Regions from separate parts of the Homo sapiens genome. Here all the other regions are linked to region 4. Evidence: promoter capture Hi-C in human tissues and cell types (Jung and others, 2019). All regions are on one chromosome and are shown on one strand. The core of a region is centred on a gene start or on the middle of the fragment in contact, and the rest is flanking DNA. Distances in the headings are between cores, read along the strand shown. Region 1 has its middle 12 kb from the start of ZNF20. Region 2 overlaps ZNF44 (zinc finger protein 44). Region 3 overlaps ZNF136 (zinc finger protein 136). Region 4 holds the start of ZNF491 (zinc finger protein 491).

Region 1 (2,967 bases), core at 185-2,684, 330 kb after region 4:
GTTGCCTTTCTGGAAAATGGTTCAAAGGACTTTGTTGGAAATTCTACTCTACTCTACTCTACTGTATTTATGTTATGTTATGTTGTTATGTTATGTTATGTTATGTTATGTTATGTTATGTTATGTTATGTTATGTTATTTTAGAGACAAGGTCTTGCTCTGTTGCCCAGGCTGGAGTGCAGTGTTGCAGTCTCAGCTCACTGCAACCTCTGCCTCCCAGGTTCAAGTGATTCTCCTGCTTCAGCCTCCCGAGTAGCTGGGATTACAGGTGGCCACCACCCCAGCCGGCTAATTTTTGTACTTTTAGTAGAGACAGGGTTTCACTATGTTGGCCAGGCTGGTCTAGAACTCCTGACCTCAAGTGATCCGCCCGCCTTGGCCTCCCAAAGTGCTGGGATTATAGGCATAAGCCGCCGTGCCTGGCCCCTGAAATACTTTTTAATATAGGGTGTAAGCCAGGCGCGGTGGCTCACATCTGTAATACAAATACAAATACAAAAATTAACCAGGTGTGGTAGTGCGTGCCTGTAATCCCAGCTACTCGGGAGGCTGAGGCAGGAGAATTGCTTGAACCCAGCAGGTGAAGGTTGCAGTGAGCTGAGATCGCACCACTGCACTCAAGCCTGGCGACAGAGCGAGACTCTGTCTCAAAAAAAAAAAAAGTGTGTAACAGTTGGTGAAAAGGTTCAAAAAAAAAAAGAAAAGAAAAGAAAGGTGACACTTAAATTTACATGACTTTTTTTTTTTTTTTTTTGAGACAGCGTCTTGCTCTGTCACCCAGGCTGGAGTGCAGTGGCACAATCTTGGCTCAATGCAAGCTCTGCCTCCCAGGTTCATGCCATTCTCCTGCCTCAGCCTCCTGAGTAGCTGGGACTACGGGCGCCCGCCACCACGCCCGGCTAATTTTTTGTATTTTTAGTAGAGACAGGGTTTCACCATGTTAGCCAGGATGGTCTCGATCTCCTGACCTCGTGATCTGTCTACCTTGGCCTCCCAAAGTGCTGGGATAACAGGCGTGAGCCACCGCACCCAGCCTACATGACTTAACTTTTTACCTTGTTAAACAGAGAGCAATCAACCCTGTGAACGTTATGTTCCAGATTCTGACAAGTGTGTTGAAAAAATTCTACACACTAAATGAAATAGGAGTAATGGGTGAGAGAGTGTGACCTTGAGTTTCAAGTTGGGGTAAGGGGGGCGGAAAAGAAGACAGTGTCTTGAGGTGGTGACATCTGTAGTGAGATCTGAAATGACGTGTTAGTATATGAAGTCAGGAAAGAGGATTCTGGGAAGATGGCAGAATAGGAAGTATCAAGCAGAAACTACAGGAAGCCATTTTTGTGAACTGAGTTCCTCTGCTGGGCCCTCAGAAACCAGACCTACCCCAGCGATTAGGAAATTACACCTAGGCAATCGTCATTGCCCCACACGCTACAAAGAACGTTCAGTAGACAATGGCTTGAGAAATGCGCCCAGTCCAATCTTTGGGTAAGCCAGGTGCAGAGATGTACAAAAAGACTGTCCTTGGCAAAGTTCTATGGTCACATGATGTTTGAGGCAGTTCTGCATATCATATGAGGGCCTTATTGGAGTTCTTGTGTATCTCTGCCAAGAGAGTACTGCACAGCAGAGGTCATTATTGCAACTTCCGTGCCATTTATTTATTTTGAGACAGAGTCTTGCTCTTTTGCCAGGCTGAAGTGCAGTGGCACGATCTCAGCTCACTGCAGTCTCTGCCTCCCGGGTTCAAGGGATTCCTCTGCCTCAGCCTCCTGAGTAGCTGGGACTATAGGAGCCCGCCACCACGCCCGGCTAATTTTTTGTATTTTAGTAGAGACAGGTTTCACCATGTTGGCCAGAATGGTCTCAATCTCCTGACTTCATGATCCGCCCGCCTCGGCCTCCCAAAGTGCCGGGATTACAGGCATGAGCCACTGCACCCAGCCACTTCTGTGCCATTTAATTGTTCACCAGTTGCCACAGGTCTATCTGTGTACACCTGAGTTGCTTGAGTGGTTCTAAACAAATGAATTTAACTTTCATTGTGGTGTTGAATTTTTGTATATACCTTTTATGAATTATTTTGACCGTGGGCTGACCAATATCATGAGTAAAAGATTTAAAAGGTCTAGAGGAGCCAGGCATGTTGGCTCATGCCTATAATCCCAGCACTTTGGGAGGCCGAGGCAGATGGATCGCTTGAGGCCAGGAGTTTAGAGACCAGTCTGGCCAACATGGTGAAACTCCAATTCTACAAAAAACACAAAAATTAACTGGGCATGGTGGTGTTCGCCTGTAGTGCCAGCTACTTGGGAGGTTGTGACGAGACTTGCTTGAACCTGGGAAGCAGAGGTTGCAGTGAGCTGAGATCGTGCCACTGCAATTCAGCCTAGGCAACAGAGCGACACTCTGTCTCAAAAAAAAAAAAAAAAAAGCCATAGGTAGGAAGCAAAATGTAAATAATGAGAAAAATATATATCTTAAGTTCACATTTGAAATATGTAAGAAAATTTGGTGATGCTGCAAATAAACTGAGGATTGTAATTATATAAATTACAAGTTTTTCCTGAGAAAAAACACATTTTCAACCTAAGTACATTGATCTTAAAGGATTTTTCCTTTGCTTTTTGACCTTGCTTTGTGAAAAAGTGCAAAAATAAGACATGAATAGTCAAAATAAGAATTTTTGGGCCAGGCGTGGTGGCTCACACTTATAATCCCAGCACTTTGGGAGGCCGAGGTGGGCGGATCACGAGGCCAGGAGATCGAGACCATCCTGGCTAACATGGTGAAACCCTGTCTCTACTAAAAAAAAAAATACAAAAAAATAGCCAGGCGTGGTGGCGGGCACCTGTAGTCCCAGCTACTCGGGAAGCTGAGGCAGGAGAATGGCGTGAACCAGGGAGGCGGAGGCTTGCAGTGAGCCGAGATCGCGCCACTGCCCTCCAGCCTGGGCAACAGAGCAAG
Region 2 (2,845 bases), core at 312-2,811, 480 kb after region 4:
GCACTTTGGGAGGCCGAGGTGGGCAGATCACAAGGTCAGGAGATCGAGACCATCCTGGCTAACATGTTGAAACCCTGTCTCTACTAAAAATACAAAAAATTAGCTGGGCATGGTGGCGGGCGCCTGTAGTCCCAGCTACTCAGGAGGCTGAGGCAAGAATGGTGTGAACCCGGGAGGCGGAGCTTGTAGTGAGCCAAGATGGAGCCACTGCACTCCAGCCTGGGCGACAGAGCAAGACTCCATCTCAAAAAAAAAGAAAAAAAATTTACTTTCTCTAACTTACTTTATTCTGAGAATACAGTATGCAATACATATGACATATATGTGCTCGTCACTTGTTTATATGACTGATAAGGCTGCTGGTCAAAAGTAGGTTAAGCTGTGGCAGACAAAAGATTATATGAGGACATACAACAGGTTGGGGCCTGGCACTTCACCCTGTGTTGTTCAGGAATGAACTGTATCCCTTTTCCATATTTCAAATCACTGAACAGCATTGATGACCACAAAACAAATGTCTCTAATTGACCAAATGAAGACATGATGTCATCCATACCTATACAGTTCAGGTTCCTAATGGTTTCTCGCATCACATCTCTGTAGAGATTCTTCTGTGATGGACCCAGCAAAGCCCACTCCTCATGGGTGAAGTTCACAGCCACATCCTCAAAGGCCACTGAGTCCTGAAACATCCCATATGTCCAGAAAAGGAAGGTTGAAACTCACAGTACTGAGAACCTATACTCACCTTCATAAACTTCCCATGATGCTGTGGTTTCCAAGCATTTATTCAATGACGTGGTAAATCCACTCTTATTCTGTGTCTGCACTCACTGTCTGATGCTGGAATTCTGATGCTGGAATTGGGCTTGCTAAAATAACAGTTGAGTAGGAACATATCTCTTATTGGTGAATTATGCAAGTGAATCTTATTGCCTGGATTACTCCTAATGTCTGTTTCTACAGTGGGTCTGTAGTCCTTGTCATGACAAAGTCCTACCACCTACTGTGCAAAAGAGAGTTACAATTAGCAGTCCTGAGACGGCATATCCTTACAACTGCTTGTTCACAATGTTGAACCTTTCGTGGTGTCTAGACAATGTATTTAGGGGAGGGCCCCGTAAGCATAACTAATAAAGGGGGTGGAGTGTGCCTAAACTATTTGTGTAAAAATTATGGTATTTGCTTAACTCCTAACTTCCCTCTGAGAGTTTGGAATTGTATTACATCCTCAGCAGAGGAAGTGTACCCAATCAGCCACTGCTAGGTTTGAATGTCTTCCCCTCCAAAATGCAGGCTGAAACTGAATCTCCAATGTGGAAGTAATCAAAGGTAGTGGTTTAAGAGGTGAGTGGGTCTTGAGGGTTTGGAACACATGGATGGATTAATCCACTCATGTATGAATGGCTTAATAAATAAACTGGTTATCACAGATGAGGTTCTGGTGTCCTTATGAGAAGAGGAAGATACTTCAGCTAGACACTCAGCCCCCTCATCATGTAATGCCCTGTACCACCCAGGGACTCTACAGAGTCCCCATCAGCAAGAAGATTCCCACCAGATGCCCACTTTGACCTTACTTGATCTTCCCAGCTTTCAGAACTGCAAAAAATAAATATCATTTCTTATAGATTACCCCAGTTCTGGTATCCTGTTGTAAGTAACAAAAAAACAGTCTTATAGACTAAGACATACACAAAGAAACACTCTAGGCACAGGGTCCCTAATGTGCAACTCTGGTAGATGATATTTCATATTTTTGTTGTTGTTGTTTTTTCAATGTCTTACTTGGGGGATTTAGCCTATCCTACGTGATTACACAGAGAGAATATTTGGAAGCTGGTGACTGGTTCCCTGTAGATCAAATGTAGTTAAGTATGACAAAAGACTAATAAAAGAGATTTTACCAACTAAATAGAAAAAATTGTAACTTTCTACTGGGTAATGTCGAAGGAGAAAGAAAAGAAGAGGACAGACTGCAAATGTTCTTAGACAGAATTCAGTGTCAGCTTTCATGAATATCAATTATATTCCATAAATCTCAACAGCAGACATTTAATAATCAATAACATTACATAAACCAATTTTTATAGAAGTCATAAATGTCTAAAGATGCTTAAAAAAAACCTTCTCATCAAGAAAGTAGACAGCTTTACAAAAACAAACAGAAGATTTAAAACTGTAATTTTTCACATCCCATACTATTAACAGAGAGAAAAAGATACATAAACAGGAAAGTGAAAAATGATAGAAAAGCCTTGTATTGTTTTTTCTTTGGCCCCATCTCTGCCCATCTCATTGCCAGTCCTGAAGACAGCAGAGTTCCCAGTGTAGAACTCTGATCACCACAGAGTGTACAGATCACATTTTGTTTCCACATTATTGCCTTTGTATTTTTGAATCAGTCTGGGGACTAACCGAAGGTCTGAAACAAGGCTCTCTTTTCTATTTCATCTACAACAGAATCCAATCAGAGTCAAACTGGGCAGGAACTACTTTAAAATGTTGTAAAATACACAAAAAGTGTGCAACCACCTAGGACAACACAAGATGACTAAGACATACATTAGAAGGCCAGGTGTGGTGGCTCACACCTGTAATCCCAGTACTTTGGGAGGCCAAGGTGTTGGGAACAGGCCCCCAAATCTAGCCATAAACAAAATCTCTGCAGCACTGTGACATGCTCGTGATGGCTATGACGCACATGCTGAAGGTTGTTGGTTTACCGGAATGAGGGCAAGGAACACCTGGCCCACCCAGGGTGGAAAACTGCTTAAGGCGTTCCTGAACCACAAACAATAGCATGGGCCATCTGTGCCTTAAGGACAAGTTCCTGCTGCAGATA
Region 3 (2,700 bases), core at 91-2,590, 380 kb after region 4:
TGAGATGGAGTCTCACTCTGTCGGCCAGGCTGGAGTGCAAGTGGCACAGTCTGGGCTTACTGCAACCTCTGCCTTCCAGGTTCAAGCTATTCTCCTGCCTCACCCTCCTGAGTAGCTGGGATTACAGGCACAGGTCACCATGCCTGGTTAATTTTTGTATTTTTTATAGAGACGGGGTTCCTCCATGTTGGCCAGGGTGGTCTCGATCTCCTGACCTCAGGTGGTCTGCCAGCCTCGGCCTCCCAAAGTGCTGGGATTACAGGCGTGAGCCACCACACCCAGCCCAAAAGAATTTCTTCTAGGACGTGTGCTTGCTTCAGGTGTATTGATTGCTATTCAAAGCAAGAAGCTTCTCTGGATTGTATACTATGAAGAAGCAAGGTTATTTCTGGCCTTGGTTATTATGATAGTTCTTACCCAGAAGTAAAAAAGATGGAGTGGCGCTAAGTTTATTACCTAAACACTGAAATATTTCTTATGATGAATTAGACATGGCTTCCCATAAGATACCTCAGTTGAAATATATAAATTCTAACTATTGATAATTTTTTTTTTTTGAGACAGAGTCTGGCTCTGTTGCCCGGGCTGGAGTGCAGTGGCGCAGTCTCGGCTCACTGCAAGCTCCACCTCCCGGGTTCACACCATTCTCCTGCCTCAGCCTCCCGAGTAGCTGGGACTACAGGTGCCCGCCACCACACCCGGCTAATTTTTTTGTAATTTTAGTAGAGACGGGGTTTCACCATGTTAGCCAGGATGGTCTTGATCTCCTGACCTCGTGATCTGCCTGCCTCGGTCTCCCAAAGTGCTGGGATTACAGGCGTGAGCCACCGCCCCCGGCCAACTACTGATAATTTTTAAAAGTCTCCCTTATTAGTCAAATTAGGCTAATGCCTCTAGGAAAGTTGTCAGAATATAAACCTAGCAAGGGACAGAGACATGATCACTATTCTAATCAAGCCTCTCTTGCTCAGATAATATGCTCTTGATGCTAATTTTTCAATATGCCTCATATGCCAGAACTGTAGACTCAGAACATCCAGAATTAAGCACAAATGATGCAGGCACTGAAGGCTCTGATATGGGAACACAAAGTGAATAAATTCTTGAAATCCTGGTGCTTATATTTTTGTGAGAAAGGAGAGGGGTTGAAAAAATGGTAAGACTGGTTTATAAGAAGGAAATAAGCACTTTGAAGGAAAGTAAATGATGGTGTGAGATAATACGGAAGCTGAGGGTGTGTGTATATGTTCTCTGTGGAGGGTGGCAACATCAGTGAGTGAAGAAATGTCACCATCGGTCATTTATATTTCCACCTCTTATACATCTTCAGCACCATTTCAGGAACTGCTTAAGTGTGGATGTAGATAGTGCATAGCAATATAGACAGTCCTGCCTTTTTGAGGTTAACAATAATGATTCCCCGTAAAGATATAGGTATGGCTTATTGTCATTTTTGCATTGGTTAAAAATTTTAATGCATGTAATATGTGATGCTGACTTTGGACATGGGTATCTGGAACCTGGAGGAAGGCACACCACTGCATACGGTGTGTGCTAGAACCACGTTGGATCCCTGTTGAAACATCTTAAGTGTTCTGCCCCTTAAGCCACAGGGGCGGAGCCTGAAGTTATATCCAGTTAGGGGTGCCAGGATGGCATCCTACTTATTGTCCAATCAGGCGCGCCTCAGAGCCCTGTCTGCCCCCAACCTCACCCCACCCTGTACGATCTTGTGGTGAATTTTCTTTTCTTGAGCTGGCTGCATTACCTTTCTTCTGGCTCCTGGCTCCACTGCCCTGGCTCTGTGCTCTGTGCTGGCCGTGGTAGCCGGAGGGAGGACCCAGGAGACCCCGAAGATGGGAAATGGCGAGTGTGGGAAATGGCAAGTGTGCAGGGGCCTGGGGTCCGACATGGCTGGAGGGGCCCAGGCCTCCTCGCCATCAGCATCCGATTCTGTTTCATCTGAGTTGCTCAAATGTGTGGGAAGCAGGGTATCAAATCCACCCCCGGCCTAACTCTCCTTGATCTGGCAGCAAACTGCTAAATTGTAGGTATAATTTCTGCAGTCCCCAACACCAGCTTCTGTTCTCGGATGCACAGTGTTATCAACTATTTGGTTTTTTTGTTTTGTTTTGTTTTTGCATTTGTTTTTGTTTTTTTTTTTTTGGTGGAGTCTCATTCTGTCGCCGAGGCTGGAATGCAGTGGCGCAATCTCCACTCACTGCAATGTCCGCCTCCTGGATTCAAGCGATTTTCCTGCCTCAGCCTCCTGAGTAGGTGGGATTACAGGCACCTGCCACCACGCCCAGCTAATTTTTTTTGGGGGGGGACAGAGCCTCACTGAGTCGCCCAGGCTGGAGGGCAGTGGTGTGATCTTGGCTCACTGCAAGCTCCGCCTCCCGGGTTCACACCATTCTCCTGCTTCAGCCTCCCGAGTAGCTGGGACTACAGGCACCCACCACTACGCCCGGCTAATTTCTTTGTATTTTTAGTAGAGACAGGGTTTCACCATATTAGCCAGGATGGTTTCGATCTCCTGACCTCGCAATCCGCCTGTCTCTGCCTCCCAAAGTACTGGGATTACAGGTGTGAGCCACCGCGCCCGGCCATTTTTTTGTGTTTTTTAGTAGAGATGGGGTCTCACCGTGTTGGCCAGGCTGGTCTCGAACTCCTGACCTCAAGTGATCTACCCACCTTGGC
Region 4 (2,916 bases), core at 301-2,800:
ATGATATATCTACTACTGTGTGTGAGGTGCTGAAGTCCCATACTATTATTGTATTGCTATCTATATCTTTCTTTAGGTCTAGAAATATTTGCTTTATTAATTTGGCCTCTCCAATGTTGGATGCATATATATTTAGTATTACTATATTATCTTGCTGAATTGATTCTGTTATCAGTATCTCATGATCTTCTTTGTCTTTTTGTACTGTTTTTTATTTAAAGTCTATTTTATCTGATACAACTATCACAACTCTTGCTGAAGCACAGTGGCGAGATCATAGGTCACTGAAGCTTCAAACTCCTGGGCTCAAGATCTTCCCACCTCAGCCTCCCGAGTAGCTGGGACTACAGGTTCAGGACACCACGCACTGCTAATTTTTAAATTTTTAGTACAGACGAGGTGTGGCTCCGTTTTCCAGGATGATGAACTCCTGGGTTCAAGCAGTCCTCCCGCTTCAGCCTCCAAAAGGGTTGGGATTATAGGCGTGAGCCCCCGCACCCTGCCTGCAAGTCTTTTAATTCACTTCAATTATCTTAGAATTTTCCTTCCCCACTTTATACATACGTACAGTGGAACTGAGGGTGTTTGTCTCAGGTAACCGATCAATGAAGTGAATAACCTGTAGGGGGCAGCAGAGCCTAAGGCCAGTGACACCCTGCTGAGGCCAGTCTGGAGCCGGCAAAGGGAGGGAAAGGGAGCTCCCCTGGGTGTTTCCCGGGCAGCCTGCCCTCTACTGCAGGTGGCCTCCAGCTGCTCAGAACAGCTGCGGAAGGAATGTGGATCCTGAGAAGCTACAGAGCCCTGGAAAGCAGGAGACTCACGTGCAGGTGCACTTTGTGTAGGGGGGTTGGGGGGAGGTTCTGTCCTTACTGGGGCTGTACCTAGAGCCTAGGGACGTTTTGCGGGGGCAGTGTTTGGTTTTTACGTGCAAAGGGTCCCGGCGACAGACTGTAATTTGTACATACAAAGATAATCTGTGAAGATCAGGCTCAGTAAGATTTGTCTGACATGTCACCTGGAGAAAGGGTTTGTGAAGGTAATAGTTTACTTAGGTTAGAAGCTTAAACTGACCCCAGGTGAGAACTTCTGCTGGTGAAAATGAAGTCTAGGGGGAGGAAGCGGTTCCATATTCAGGGGTGGGACGGGGGGAGTGTGAGGAAGTCTCATCCCCAATTCCCGCCCTGTAGAGGACACCTGCCTCTCCCTCCTGGTGCAGTCTTGCCTGGCCTGGCCTGGCCTGGATTTCCTTCCTGCTATGAGGCAAAGGAATGACTCCATTGAACACCGAGTCTGGAATTCCCAGCACACATTTCTGAAAGATCGAGGAAGCTAACAGTGCCCCTTCTAACAATAAGTAGCAAGTTTGGCTGAAATGCAGATAGCCAACGACCAGGGCGCAGGGAGTGAGCTTAGCCTTAGAAAGGCTGTAGCTAGGATTAATCAGCCGGGCTCTGCAGGGCTCCGTTACCCAGGGCTTACCCTGTCACTCAGGGCTGAGGGGCGGAGCCTGGAACCCCATCCAATCAGGGGCCCTGGGACGGGGCCCTGCCAACTGTCAATCCGGGGAAGCAGAAGGCCGCACTCAGAGTCTCTGCACTCCTTTGTTGCTGGGGTCCGTTGCGTTCTGCATCCAGTCCTTGCTGCTCCGAGAGGCCCCAGGTGCCTCCGCCACGGCTCCTGTGACGCTGTCACCTGCGCTGTGACCTGCTCCGGAGTCATAAAGAGGACGCCGGGACACCAAGAAGCAGGGAAATGGTAAAGTGCCCGGCCTAGCGTCCAGATACGTGGAAGAGGGGCTGGGTGGAACCAACAGGATCCTGCTGTGGCGGGACCCAGGCCTCCGCTCGGGCGACCCCGGCGATTGGGACCCGCGTCCCCCATGGCGTGGCTTGGCCCTCGGTCCGCTCGGCCGCCAGGTGGGGCTGGGCCCGCAGCTGGGACCCCGGGCGTCCTGTCCCGTCCCTACGCGGCGACTGCGGCCCCGGCCCCGGAGTCCTCTCTGGGCAGCTCCGCGCCCGCAGCCCGGCGTCTTCCCAGATTGTGCGGGGGCCACGGGAGGGTCATGGGGGGTCGGATGTGTCCCGCCTTTCTTCTGCTAAAAATTAAACTGAGGCTCTGTTAACAGTTAAAGAGTTTGTTGGAGCAACAGCGATTCCGAGTGAGAAACACCCGGTCATGGCTTGTGATTGAAGAAAAGGCTTTTATAAGTTGCATGAGGAGGCAAACAGGATTAAATACTTGATTAGTTACAGTGATGCTGTCGCCGTATGTGGACTTGTCAACCTGAAATAAAAGAATCAGATTCCAGTTTTTTAAAGTTTACTCAAGCAAGAAGCTGGGAATGGCCCATTTGGGAAAACACAGGATCCACGGAAATGGGCTCAGTGTTTCAAATTTAAAAGTTTAAGTTCTTGCTTATATAGGCAAGAAATTTAACAGGATTACAACGTTTTTTATACAAGGCTAGTTTGTGAGGCACAACAATTTAATCAGAGTTTGGCCCGCCCCCCTCCCCCCGCCCCCATAGAGCTTTTTTTTTTTTTTCTTTACATTTGGGTTTCATTTCCTTTCCAATTTAAAAGAGTATATTTAACATTCCAGCGTAAGGCAAGGTGATGCCAGCGTGGACAACATGGCGAGACCCCGTCTGTACAAAATATTTTAAAAAATTAGTCGGGTATGGCCGGGCGCGGTGGCTCACGTCTACAATCCCAGCACTTTGGGAGGCCGAGGCGGGCGGATGACGAGGTCAGGAATTCGAGACCATCCTGGCCAACATGGTGAAACCCCGACTCTACCAAAAATACAAAAATTAGCTGGGCGTGGTGGCACGTGCCTGTAATCCGGCTACTCGGGAGGCTGAGGCAAGACAATCGCTTGAACGCAGGAGGCGGAGGTTGCGTGAGCCGAGATGGT

What was found. The method cuts DNA at HindIII sites, captures the fragments that hold promoters and counts their contacts. A contact is called where the count stands out against the background at its distance.
Region 1: a fragment that was not itself captured here is called in contact with the fragment with the promoter of ZNF491 in region 4 in 1 of the 25 tissues and cell types used here (dorsolateral prefrontal cortex).
Region 2: a contact is called between a fragment that was not itself captured here and the fragment with the promoter of ZNF491 in region 4, in 1 of the 25 tissues and cell types used here (spleen).
Region 3: a fragment that was not itself captured here is called in contact with the fragment with the promoter of ZNF491 in region 4 in 2 of the 25 tissues and cell types used here (dorsolateral prefrontal cortex and spleen).

The regions. Positions count from the first base shown.
Region 1 is chr19:12,126,930-12,129,896 of GRCh38, forward strand. No RefSeq gene overlaps it. Among named protein-coding and RNA genes, the nearest start is that of ZNF20, 12 kb to the right of the region's middle. The HindIII fragment of the contact is 9,523 bases long and covers 1-2,967 here.
Region 2 is chr19:12,275,400-12,278,244 of GRCh38, forward strand. ZNF44 (zinc finger protein 44) reads right to left here. Exons shown (of 4, transcript NM_016264.4): 2 at 557-683. Among named protein-coding and RNA genes, the nearest start is that of ZNF44, 18 kb to the right of the region's middle. The HindIII fragment of the contact is 9,813 bases long and covers 1-2,845 here.
Region 3 is chr19:12,179,327-12,182,026 of GRCh38, forward strand. The region is part of intron 1 of ZNF136 (zinc finger protein 136); the gene reads left to right. Among named protein-coding and RNA genes, the nearest start is that of ZNF136, 18 kb to the left of the region's middle. The HindIII fragment of the contact is 3,876 bases long and covers 1-2,700 here.
Region 4 is chr19:11,796,973-11,799,888 of GRCh38, forward strand. It overlaps ZNF491 (zinc finger protein 491), which reads left to right and starts at 1,551. Exons shown (of 3, transcript NM_152356.4): 1 at 1,551-1,755. RefSeq lists a silencer at 543-712 and enhancers at 806-1,317, 1,543-1,642, 1,653-1,812. The HindIII fragment of the contact is 4,685 bases long and covers 1-2,916 here.